Regions from separate parts of the Homo sapiens genome. Here all the other regions are linked to region 1. The links are contacts of gene promoters, found by promoter capture Hi-C in blood cells and fetal thymus (Javierre and others, 2016). All regions are on one chromosome and are shown on one strand. Each heading gives the region's core, a stretch centred on a gene start or on the middle of the fragment in contact. The rest is flanking DNA. Distances are from core to core; before and after follow the strand shown.

The links. The method cuts DNA at HindIII sites, captures the fragments that hold promoters and counts their contacts. A CHiCAGO score of 5 or more calls a contact.
Region 2: a contact is called between a fragment that was not itself captured here and the fragment with the promoter of PLCE1-AS1 in region 1, in 2 of 17 cell types (M2 macrophages and naive B cells). The highest score is 5.6, in M2 macrophages.
Region 3: a contact is called between a fragment that was not itself captured here and the fragment with the promoter of PLCE1-AS1 in region 1, in 1 of 17 cell types (M2 macrophages). The highest score is 6.5, in M2 macrophages.
Region 4: a contact is called between a fragment that was not itself captured here and the fragment with the promoter of PLCE1-AS1 in region 1, in 3 of 17 cell types (naive B cells, total B cells and monocytes). The highest score is 8.7, in naive B cells.

Annotation. Positions count from the first base shown.
Region 1 is chr10:94,285,529-94,288,602 of GRCh38, reverse strand. It overlaps PLCE1-AS1 (PLCE1 antisense RNA 1), which reads left to right and starts at 1,533. Exons shown (of 4, transcript NR_033969.1): 1 at 1,533-1,762. All of the region lies in intron 22 of PLCE1 (phospholipase C epsilon 1), which reads right to left. The HindIII fragment of the contact is 4,167 bases long and covers 1-3,074 here.
Region 2 is chr10:94,490,940-94,494,013 of GRCh38, reverse strand. TBC1D12 (TBC1 domain family member 12) reads right to left here. Exons shown (of 13, transcript NM_015188.2): 4 at 567-649. Among named protein-coding and RNA genes, the nearest start is that of HELLS, 53 kb to the left of the region's middle. The HindIII fragment of the contact is 1,572 bases long and covers 623-2,194 here.
Region 3 is chr10:94,466,189-94,469,262 of GRCh38, reverse strand. All of the region lies in intron 2 of TBC1D12 (TBC1 domain family member 12), which reads right to left. Among named protein-coding and RNA genes, the nearest start is that of TBC1D12, 65 kb to the right of the region's middle. The HindIII fragment of the contact is 2,525 bases long and covers 151-2,675 here.
Region 4 is chr10:94,427,868-94,430,941 of GRCh38, reverse strand. All of the region lies in intron 1 of TBC1D12 (TBC1 domain family member 12), which reads right to left. Among named protein-coding and RNA genes, the nearest start is that of TBC1D12, 27 kb to the right of the region's middle. The HindIII fragment of the contact is 9,366 bases long and covers 1-3,074 here.

The DNA of each region.
Region 1 (3,074 bases), core at 284-2,783:
TGAATTGCCTGCCTTAGAAACCCAGGGACCAGGACCTCCCAGTGCCTTCCAAATGTAAATCCCTGGTAGAGAGGCCTGAGACTGGGTATGTTAATCAAGTGGCCTGGGTGATTCTGGAGATTTCAGCAAGTGTAGTAAACAAGGATTCTAGTCAACTCCACTTTTGAGTGAGAAAGGCTCAGAGAGATTTGCCTTGGCCAAATCACAAAGCATGGTAGCCAAGAGCCCAGGTCTCTGACCCACGATCTTATCTGATGATCTTGTCACCACTGAATAATTTTTGTCTTACAGGGTTGTAATCTTTTAAGCTATGGGTATGTCAAGGCATACAGAGCAGCGTAATGGACATTGGAGACTCAGAATGAGAGTGGGAGGGAGGTGAGGGATGAAAAACTACCTGGTGGGTATGACTTACACGACTTGGGTGACAGGTGCGCTAAAATCCCAGACTTCATCACTATACAATTCATCCATGTAACCAAAAACTACTTGTACCACTAAAGCTGTCAAAATAAAAAAATTCAAAATAAAAGAACAAGGTTGCACTCCTAACTGTGGAACAACTGGGTATCTAGGAGGTACCCAAACATATGCCTATAAATGAAGGAGCTCCAGAAAGGAGATGTCACAATGAGTTGAAGAGTCTCAGATACTTTCCAAGGACCCCGTCCTTGGAATTTGGAATGGGGCCAAGGGGAGAAGGAAGGCCAGGCAAGGTTGAGAACACTCTGAGCAATGGCCTGGCACTAGAAAGACGGCAGTGTATGTAGGTGCCTGAGGAGAGTGGGGGATGCAGGGGAGCTTGTGGGAAGATATTGGAAACTAGGTTGATGGGGTCATAAAATAAAAATACCATATCCTTTTTTTTTTCTATTAGAAGGAGAAAAAAACCCAGGACAATAGAAGTACTAAATGCAACCGAGAAATAAACCCTAAGAGAAAGCAGGTCGAAAAAATTCAACTACTTCCATAGTGTGGTGCAAAGAGCCCACCCCTGGGAGCTGACAGGAATTCTGGCTCTTGCCCTGCCACTGACCTAGCTTCTGATGGTGGGGAAGTTCCTTCCTTTCTGTGGGCCTCATACCACATGATTGTTGAGTGCCTCATTGCAATGAAGGGTTTTTTTTTTTTTTTTGCATATGGCTTGTAAGAAGGGACTTGGGATGATGAAAGGTGACATACACTGAAATTGATAATGTAGCAAAATTAAAATAAACGGCATAGCAAAATGAACAGTTTATAGTATTTTCCTCATGTGCATCAAACAAATGATTGTAAAAAGAAATATTTAGAAGGTATTATAACAATCATTCTGGCAATCCAATTTAGCTATTTTGAGACAGGAAATAAAATCAGGGAAAAAATGTAAGAAATTTCATTTTTCTAAAGAGAAAATACACTATACCTATGAAGAAATGTATGCTATGTGAACACTTTTAAAAAACAACATACTTGGAATTTTTAAAATAAGCCGAACAACCACATGCTTAGAAGCTCTATCACATGACCTCCTGATCTTCCACGATTCTCTACTGGTACAGAGACTTTATCTTTCACACAGACTTCAAATATCTTTGGGAATTTGTGCTCCTTATTTACTGAGTGCTTGAGAAGAAAAGACAAAGCCAGTGGAATGGTCCGAGTGTGGCATCCGCTGCATTTATAAAGAATAAGAGCTGCAGTGGGTGTGATTCTTGGACAGAGTGGCGCTCATCCTTGTTCCTGCAATGAAGGACATGCCAGCCTCCAGGCTCTTTGACAGGTAAAGGGTTTTACTCCATCAGAAAAAGAGTTTTGCCAGTTGCAAATAATGGTCATATTGTACTTATATGCCATGAGGTCATGGTCTGTGAAATTAAACTTAAATGGCCAGGTTCCTGCATTTCTCTGAAATCTTTGCTGGCTACTTATTGATTCATATCCTCCTCAACAGGATTTGCTAGCAGACAAGCAGTAGCAGCTGCCAAAAGTTTAAAAACAGCTTATAGGAGAAAACTTACAATTAAAATGATTTTAATATCATGAAATATATGATTTTTATCATATCATTAAATAATATGATTTTTTTTACTCTGATGTGTGAAAAGCTCACTATTACCTAACTGTGATTTTAAAAATTTAATTATTATTTTTTAGAGATGAGGTCTTGCTATATATCTTGCCCAGGCTGGGCTTGAACTCCTAGACTCAAGCATTTCTCCTGCTCAGCCTCCCTGGTAGCTGGGATTACAGGCACGCACCACTACACCCAGTTTGCCTAATTTTTAAATAGCCCAATGCCTCTGGCCCATTTGTCAGGCACTGTGTGAGACCAGGTGCTTAAGATATGCTCTGGGAGGGACCTGAGTTCAGCCCATCTTGAAAAGATGAGGGCATTTTAGTGCCTCTCTCCAGGCCAAGTCTATAAATCCTGTTTACTAACATTTAGACTGATCCTCCTATCTCAGCCACTTTCCTGTTCTCAGAAATTATATTCAAGAGAATCCTTTTTCTTAGTATGAGGAGATGAATTTTTCTGAGTTCCATGTACTTAGGGACTTTCTTGTTTGTCTTCTACCCCCTGGTGCCCCATTTGTGGGACACATAATTGAGTACCTCATTGAAAACAGCCCGAAACAAGAGAGGCCAGGCAGTATAACGGGTAAGGGCAGGACTTTGGAGACAGACAGGCTTCAGAGCCATAGGTCTACCATTCATTAATTGAAAAGGACACTGTTTTTGGAAAGTGGTTCATCAGCCTGTCCACTGTACTTCTAAAAACGGTCAATTGGGGGAAATCTCTCCTTCCACTTCAACGCCATCCTTGGTCCTTGTGGTTTGGGTGGGGCCTTGCTACCCAGCTCAGAGTGGAGAATGTGACATGGGATCCAGACCATCAGAGCACTGCATCTCCTGGCCACAGTGATTGGTAAAGGACCCAATGAGAAACAATGACACTTCTGCGGGAAGTTCTGGAAGAGACTCTTACACTGAAGCTGAAACTGGAAGCATGTAGTGCTGGCCTGCTGTAGCCGTCTCGCAACCAGAAGGGAATAAAGGGGAGAAAGCCAACATGATGGAGGCGGAATGAGAAA
Region 2 (3,074 bases), core at 159-2,658, 210 kb before region 1:
AAATTATAAAATAATTAGAAATTAATTATAAAATATAAAAATGGTAAAAAGTGAAATTCATTAATAGATTCATGAATTATTATCTTTATTTATAAACTAAGATAGTAGAAGTCCAAGTTTTATGACTGTAATTTCAAGATTCCTCCTATTCTGTAAAAGTACATGCAGAAAAACTATGATCCTGGTATGTCATTTTATTCCTCCTTTAGAACAAACTTAATTATAAAAATAGTAGAGAAAAATAAAAGCATGGGCAACATGGTAAAACCTCATCTCTACAAACAATACAAAAAACTAGCCAAGCATGGTGGCACGTGCCTGTGGTCCCAGCTACTTGGGAGGCTGAGAGGTAAAAGGACTGCTTGAGCCTGGAAGGTCAGGCTACAGTGAGCTGTGACTGCATCACTGCATACCAGGCTGGGCAACAGAGCAAGACTCAAAAAAGAAACGAAAAAAGAAATAAAAAAAAGAATTCAGTATCATCTTGAAGACAGACTTGATGAATTTTACCATCCATCTTCTTATTAAAATCAGAAAATTATACCATTTGGAGTTAAATTTTATACCTCGTTTTTTAGCCTCAGCCACCATCTCATCGTATTCTTGTCGGTGACGTAAAGCTTCTTCCACAGATTTGGCAGGAAGATTTCTGGAAAAAAAAATTACTTAAGTCAAGACAATTTTTAAAAGATTAACTTTCAACTTACTAACTTATTTGTTTTTACACCCAGATGCAAAGAATTTCTAAACTAACCTCATTTCATACATTAAGGAAGTGAAAGGCTGAAAAGAACTGTGCATTTTAGAACAGAATCAGAATCCAGGTTGTTAATATGTGGTGTGTGTGTGTGTGTGTGTGTGTAGTTCTATGTCATGTGTATATAAGTTGGTATATATTTAAACATTTCAGATTAAAAAAATAGAGATGGGGTCTCACTATGTTGCTCAGGCTAGTCTCAAACTCCTGGGTTGAAGCAATCCTCCTGACTCAGCCTCCCAAAGTGCTGGGATTACAGGTGTGAGCCACTGAGCCCAGTCCATTTCAGATTTCAGTCAATATTTTTAGGTTATTTGTTAAACTCACTTACTAGAGTTTTCTTTAGTCAACTTTTTTCAGATATAATTTTCATATAATAAAATGAATAAACATATTTTAAGAATAGTTTGATGAGTCTTGACAAATGTATATACCTGTGCAGCTAACTAACCAATCAAGATATAGAACATTCCCATCATTCCACTAAGTTTCCTTGTGGTACCCCTCACAAAATTCTTTCTTTGATTTCTATCACTACAGATTAATTTGTTTCCTCTTCAAGAATTTTATAGACTCTTGTGTCTGGCTTTTTTTGTTTTAATTTACATTGAAGGACTAATGTCTGGCTTCTTTTGCTCAGCACAGTTTTGAAAATCATTCATGTTGTTGTATTAGTAATGTATTCCTTTTAATTGCTGAGTAGTATTCCATTTATCCATGTGGGTGGACACTTGGATTGTTTCCAGATTGAGGCCATTATTAATAAAACTACTGTAAAAATTAACATCAAGTTTTTGTGTAGACATTTGCTTTCATTTCCCTTAGTTAAACAAAAGTCTTGGGTTATATAGTAAGTGTGGATATACCTTTACAATAAACTGTCAAACTGCTTTCCACTAATTAGAGTTTTAAGACAACATTTTAACTAAAAAACTGGATCATCCATCATTTGCATACATAGTAGTCCCCCCTTATCCTTAGGAGTTATGTTCCAAGACCTCCAGTGGATGCCTGAAACCTCAGACAGTAACAAACCCTATATATACCAGGTTTTTTCCTATACATACATAACTATGATAAAGTTTAATTTAATTGAGATTAAGTTAACCCAGCACAATATGTTGCCATCAATTGGAACACATTTTTGTTCATATCTTCCACCCATAAATTTAATGTCTTTTCAATCATAACTGAACACCGTGCTCTATGGTAGTAACTTTTGCAATTTAAGGTGCAACAGTAACACTAGCATAAATTTCTTTTTCATTCTTCACAATTTCATGGATAGGAAACTGATTCTTACCACAGATCTTAGCAACTTCAGCATATGATTTTTTTTTCTTATTAATTTGAGAACTTTCACCTTTTTGCTTAAAGGAGGAACTTTACAGCTTCTCTTTGGCATATCTGAATTGTCAGCACCACTACTCTTAAGCTTTGGGGGCATTACTAATAAAATAAGGGTTCTTTGAACACAGGCGCTGTGGTATCACCAACAGTCGATCTGACAACCAAGAAGGTTACTAACTGAACTACCAGATGGGTAGTGTATATAGTGCAGATAAACTGAACTCATGTCCCTAGCAGGATGGAGCAGGACAGTGAGATTTCATCATGCTACTCAGAATGGCACGCAATTTAAAAATTAAAAGTTATTTCTGGAATTTTCCACTTAATGTTTTCAAACCACAGCTGAGTACAGGTAACTGAAATTGCCTTAAGCAAAACCGCCAATAAGGGGTAACTACTACACCGTATTTTGGTTTATCAAATCAATGGCTTCACAGAGTCAGTGATTTAGATATAAAAAATGCAAAAAGAAATACACTGGTATATTATCACTTATCCAAATATAATCATAATAGTGTCCAGTTTTAGGAGTCAGTCTTTTCTTTTCAACAGGCTAGTGTGGAAAAAGGTATGTGACAAATTTTCAAATTATAAATTCTACCTCCTCTTCTCAAATTAGTCAGTTGATCTGGTAGGTTGTAGGAGGGAGGAATAAAAGTTAAGACCTCTGCTTCAGGCCATAATGGAATAAAAGAAACCAGGTTTACCCTTTCCCCTTAAATCATTAGAAAATGGACAAAATATATTAAACTATAGTTTCCAGACAACAGACACTGGGCAGCACAAGAAAGTGATCTTTAAGAGAAAAGAAATAAGCAAGGTAACCCTACAAGTACCTGACATTTCCAGGTCTCAGTGGTCCATCAATCCTAAGGTGAGGAGAAAGTTTAGAGTTGGAGAGTCCAAGACAGCTAAAAGTTACAAACCAGAAAACCAGAAAAGAAGGGAGCTGCAGAGAGTCCTCTCA
Region 3 (3,074 bases), core at 164-2,663, 180 kb before region 1:
ATCACCACCAGAATAAAAAGTCATCACTGGGAATACACAAAACATTCAGGAAAAACCCAAAAGGTCTCTTTGTTGGATGTAAGACATTGTGAATTTTAGACGGCTGAGGGCTGAATAATACTTGATTTTGTTCTGTCCAGAAGTTAAGCTTCTTGTGCATCAGTTTGACTCCTTTATGGCTTATTTATAAACTTTTTTAGTTCACATCTAACGTAATTTTTTCTTTGGAGCTAATTTATCCCATAACTAAGAAATTATCAATGAACTTACTTTCTTCTGCAATGTTTAATCTGTGATTAATGTCACCCAGTAAAATATTCACGTCAGATCTTGCATATTAACAACTGTAGCACTGTTATCAATCAACTTGAGAACAGAGCAACAGAAACTATCCAAAATTAAGCAAAGAAAGGGAAAAAAATTGAAGAAATATAAGCAGAGCTTTAGGGAACACTATGAAGCAGCCTAAATTATGTGTAATTGGAGTGTTGGTACGAGGGAGAACAATATTTAAGACAATAATGGCTGAAATGTTGTCAAACTACACCCACAGACCCAAGAAGTTCAATAAATTCTAAGCAGAATACAGATAAAACCACACCAAAAGACATCATAATTATTTGCTAAAATATAATGGTAAGAAGAATATTTTAAAAGCAGCCAGAAAAAAAGCACTTATATTGAAAAGACTGAATGTGAAAACAATTACAAGACTTTTCCCCTAAAATTATTCCAGTCAAAAGACAATAGAAAAATCTTTAAACTGCTGAAGGAAAAAAAAATGGAGAGGGAACATCTATTAACTTAGAATCCTATACCAGAGGAAATATCTTTCATAAGTGAAAGCAAAATAAAATTATTTTCAGACAAGCAATAGCTAAGAGAATTTGTTGTCAGTAGACCAGCAATATAATTTCAAGGACATTATTCAGGCAGAAAGTATGTATCACATGAAAACATGAATATACACAAAGAGATAAAAAGCACCAAAAATAATAAATATAGACAAAAAGACAGTTTTCTCATTTCTTAAAGTTAGAGAATATTTGGTCATTTAATACAGAAATATACTGGTAAATGTAAATAAGCAGTTTACAGCACAAAAGTTAGAAAGGAGGTAACAGCAGTACACTGTTGTAAGGTTCTTCCATTATACTCAAGTGCTATAAAGTTATTTGAAGGTAGACCATGATAAATTAAATATCATAAAAGCCCTAGTGTTGCAGTTTCTCGATGTGTAATTAGAAGACCTAAGTGTTCAGGACATGCTTTCATGGGGTCTGCAAAGTCAGAGCTATATTCCTAAGAGTGTTAATAGTTTGTCACTGCATTGACATTTGTACTAATGGTGCTCAGCAATGCTGAATAAAACTGTAGGTAGCCTGGACAATATAGTGAGACATTGTCTCTACAAAAAATAAAAACATTAGCCAAGTATGGTTGTACGCGCATGAGAGTGGGGAGCTATGAGCTCACTGCTGCACCCCAACCTGGGCAATAGAGACCCTGTCTCAAAAACAAAAACTGTCAGTGCCCTATCACAAATCAAAGCAATAGCACTGTGATGACTGTATTATTCAGGACATGCATTGAAGGTTTAAAAAAAAGAGGGGGAGTGGCCAGATTCATTTAAGTATGTCTATGACAAAACAGTAAAAATTATTAATTGTATTAAATATTTATATATGAGTAAACATCTTAACATTCTGCGTGACAAAAGGAAAAGTACAGGGCCGGGCACAGTGGCTCATGCCTGTAATCCCAGCACTTTGGGAGGCCAAGGCGGGCGGCTCACCTGAGGTCGGAAGTTCGAGACCAGCCTGACCAAATGGAGAAACTCCATCTCTACTAAAAATACAAAAATTAGCCGGGCGTGGTGGTGCATGCCTGTAATCCCAGCTACTCGGGAGGCTGAGGCAGGAGAATCGCTTGAACCCAGGAGGCAAAGGTTGCAGTGAGCTGAGATAGCGCCACCGCACTCCAGCCTGGGCAACAACAGCGAAACTCTGTCTTAAAAAACAAAAACAAAAACAAAAAAAAACTCGACTACACACTTGTGCAAAGGAAAAGCACTTGTGCAATTATTTGAGTTCTAAACTGAACAAATGTCTTTTTCAAGAACACTATTTTTATTTAAAAGAAAAACTGACTGCAAACTGCAGTGGCAGTCATTTTCTAAAAATTAGACAAAGCGGGCCCTTTATCTCCATGATATTTCTCCCAGAAAACCATAAACCCACTCAAGTCATAAGGAAATCATGAGAGAAACCTAAATTGAAGACCATTCTAGAAAATAATAGACCAGTACTCTTCAAAAGTGTCAAGTTCATTAAAAAAAGGAAAGATGACAAACTGTCAAAGGCCATAGAGACTAAGGAATTGTGATAGCAAAATATAATGTGATATTCCGGATTAGACACTGAAAGAGAAATAGGACTTTAATAGAAAAATTGGTGAAATCCAAGTGAAGTCTGGAGTTTAATTAATAGTAATCTACCAAAGTCAATTTTCTGAGTTTTGACAAATGTACAGGGTAATAGATGCTAACATTAGAAGAAACTGAATGAGAGGTATTTATGAATTCTCTGTATTGTTTTTTCAGTATCACAATAATAAAGTTATTCCAAAATCTAAAGTTATTCTGTAAATCTAAAGTTATTCCAAAATAAAAAGCTTATTAAAACAAACAAAAAAGGATGAAGTGTGCCAGTGATTTTAAGGAAAGCAATTGAAAGTAAGTGTTGCTAATAATAAAATCCAGCCTTTCAGTAAGAATTAAAATGCTGTGAACTTGTAAATGCCACTATATATATGTGTGTATGTATATACATATATACATATATATATGTTGTCAATAGACAGCAATATAATTTCAAGGAAATTATTCAGGCAGAAAGTATGTATCACATGAAAACATGAATATACACAAAGAAAATACACCAAAAATAATAAATATGGACAAATAAAAAAGACAGTTTTCTCATTTCTTAAAGTTTTAGAGAATATTTGGTCATTTAATACAGAAATATACTGGCAAATGTAAATAAGGAGTTTACAGCACAAAAGTTAGAAAG
Region 4 (3,074 bases), core at 240-2,739, 140 kb before region 1:
AATTTGTGTCCAATCTTTTTAGCAAAAAGGAGTTGAGCAATAAGTTGCCCCAGTTAGGAAATAGCATCAACTGAGAAATAGCAGTCTAATGGTTTCTTCATTGTTGAAAACATATAGTTGAAAAAGAAAAGAGGCACACTAAGAAAAGGCTAATGTGGGGATTAGAAGAGAAAAGAGGGGAAAAGGCCTACTAATACAACCATTTCCCTGCCTTCTCCCTTAGTGGCTTTTATAATACAGGTTGGGTAAATGACTCTAGCTTATTAATACATGTTAACATTTGCTTCACATATCTGTGTGCTTGTATTCTCCTAAAATTTCTTCATTTCTTTTATCACACACAAAAAAAGCTACATAGGACCTAAGAGTCAGACCATTTGCCTACCATACCTTATCAAAGGCTAAAGCTCACTAAAAAGGGGCAAAATTTATTGATATCATGCAAATTCTCCACTAATGCTTTTTTAAATAACAGAATGTAGAGTGCTTGGATCTTTAAGAATTGGCAAACCCACTTACGTATCTGAGATAAAGGAATGTAAATCCCATAGTTTCTCAAACTGTGGAATTTGACACTATAGAAAATTGTGACTACCTAATCCTGAATCTTCTTACTGCCAACAGTAATGTGAGCTCCAGCCCTCCAAAAAGTAATTAATTTTGCTTAACATTTACATCAATTTGACTATTTTAACCTTTTAGACTCATTGGATAAATTCTAATAATCATTTCAATAGACTTGTATATTAAAAGGGGATTCAACACTGGGCACACACATGTAGTCTTGGCTACTCAGGCGGCTGAAGGAGGACTGCTTGAGCCCTGGAGTTCGAGGCCAGACTGGACAACATAGCAAGACACCATCTATTTTTTTAGAAATTGGGGTGGGGGGATAGAATACTTTTCGGCTGGGTGCGGTGACTCACACCTGTAATACCAGCACTTTGAGAGGCCAAGGCAGGTGGGTATCTTGCGTCCAAGAGTTCGAGACCGGCCTGGGCAACATGGCAAAACCCCATCTCTACAAACAAAATGCAAAAATTAGGCAGGCGTGGTGGCACGCACCTGAAGCCCCAGCTACTTGGCAGGCTGAAGCGGGAGGATCACTTGAGCCCAGGAGGTCAAGGCTGCAGTAACACAAGATCGTACCACTGCACTCTAGCCTGAGTGACAGAGCAAGAACCTGTCTCAAAAAAAAAAGTGGAGGGGATAGAATCAATTGAAAGAGTAAAATCAGTTTTAAAAATTAGAAATCATAACAGAGGGGAAGTTGGATGGCTGAAAACATAAAAACTTCCTGGACTTTAATTTCCCCAAAGAATAAAAAGCCATAAAGAAAACATTATCTAGTGACCATGGAATGCCACAGCTGACTACATAATTAATTCAAAGAAGTATAACTACTGTCTCTAAACTCAGTACTTTGGTTACCCTTGAGTATTCTGGATTAAAGATCTGGCACAAAGATTACTAACATTCTTTACAAGCCTCAATCATTTTTCACTTGGAAAAAACTTTCAGCTGACTATATGCAAAAAAAGTAGGGTTTTTTGCCAGATAACTTAGGCTTTTTTAATTCCAAGAATTTTCTTTTTCAAGCTGTTTTTGGATCTTGTCTTTGTTATTACAAATCCTAAAAATTAAAAAAAAAGTAGAGAATTTTTATTCAATAAACATTACTTAACTAACCAGATATTTTCTGAGATCAGAGCTATCAAAAAGGGAAATTCAACATCACCCACTCTGTCAAAACAAGAGAAATTACAAGGCTGAAAGGCTACAATTTTTCAAGTAATAAATAATATTTTAGAGCTTCTAGGGACCTTAGAAAATATCCGTAACATTGGAGAGTGTTCAGAGAAAAAGAAAATTAAAAATTAAATTAAAAAAAAAAAAGACTATCCAGGTCAGAGTTCTTTATTAAGAGTCAATCAACCTGCTGAGCATGATGACTCACGTCTGTAATGCCAGCACTTTGAGAGTCCAAGGCGGGAGGATCACTTGCATCTAGGAGTTCAAGACCAGTCTGGGCAACATAGCGAAACCCCGTCTCTACAAAAAAAAATCAGCCAGGCATGGTGGCATGCATCTGTAGTCCCAGCTACTCAGAAGGCTGAAGCGGGAGGATCACGTAAGCCTGCGAAGTCAAGGCTGTAGTGAGCCTGATGGCACCACTGCACTCCAGCCTGGGCAACAGTGAGATTTTTGTCTCAAAAAAAAGTCAATGAACCTACACAAATGGGCCACAGGTTGTCTACAAGCATTCTCAAATTGTGTGCACAATCCAGTAATGAGGTCAGGTAAGAAAAAAATATTGTCTGCACAATTTTAAGTAAATGATGTACTTACAGGCCAGGCATGGTGGCTTACACCTGTAATTCCAGCACTTTGGGAGGCTGAATGAAGCAGGTGGATCACTTGACCTCAGGAACTGGAGATTACCCTGTCTAACATGGCAAAACCCCATTTCCACAAAAAGTATAAAAATTAGCCAGGCATGGTGGCATGCGTCTATAGTCCCAGTTACTCGAGAGGTTGAGGTGGGAGGCTCACTTGAGCCCAGGAGGTTGAGGATGCAGCAAGCTGTGATTGTGCCACTGCACTCCAGCCTGGGAAACACAGTGAGACCCTGTCTTAAAAAAAAAAAAAAAAAAAAAAAGAAGTTCCAAACATTTCTCTTGGCCAGCTTTCATCAAATTCTCCTAGGATTCAATACACCAACCTACCACTTCCAAGACAGACTGATGACCCCACAGAGTCTTTGCCAAGGTCACACTACTAAGTGTTTGAAACAGGTCTCTCTTGCATAGTTGCTTTTCTTTTTAATCACATTCATATTGTTCATGTCCTCCATACAACAATCAAGATGTAAGAGCTTCACAACTAATCCCTAATCTTTTCCATCCTACACATTGCCAAAATGCCTTCATTTTAAACAATTCAAATATACAAATTTATTTTCTTATCCTTCCAGAATACAGTCCAAGTGTACTCATGTTAGCAAGTCACCTTATGTCTTATTTCTTATGGTAAATAAATTACAGGCAATGCCTTACTGATAGAGGTCTTCTTTC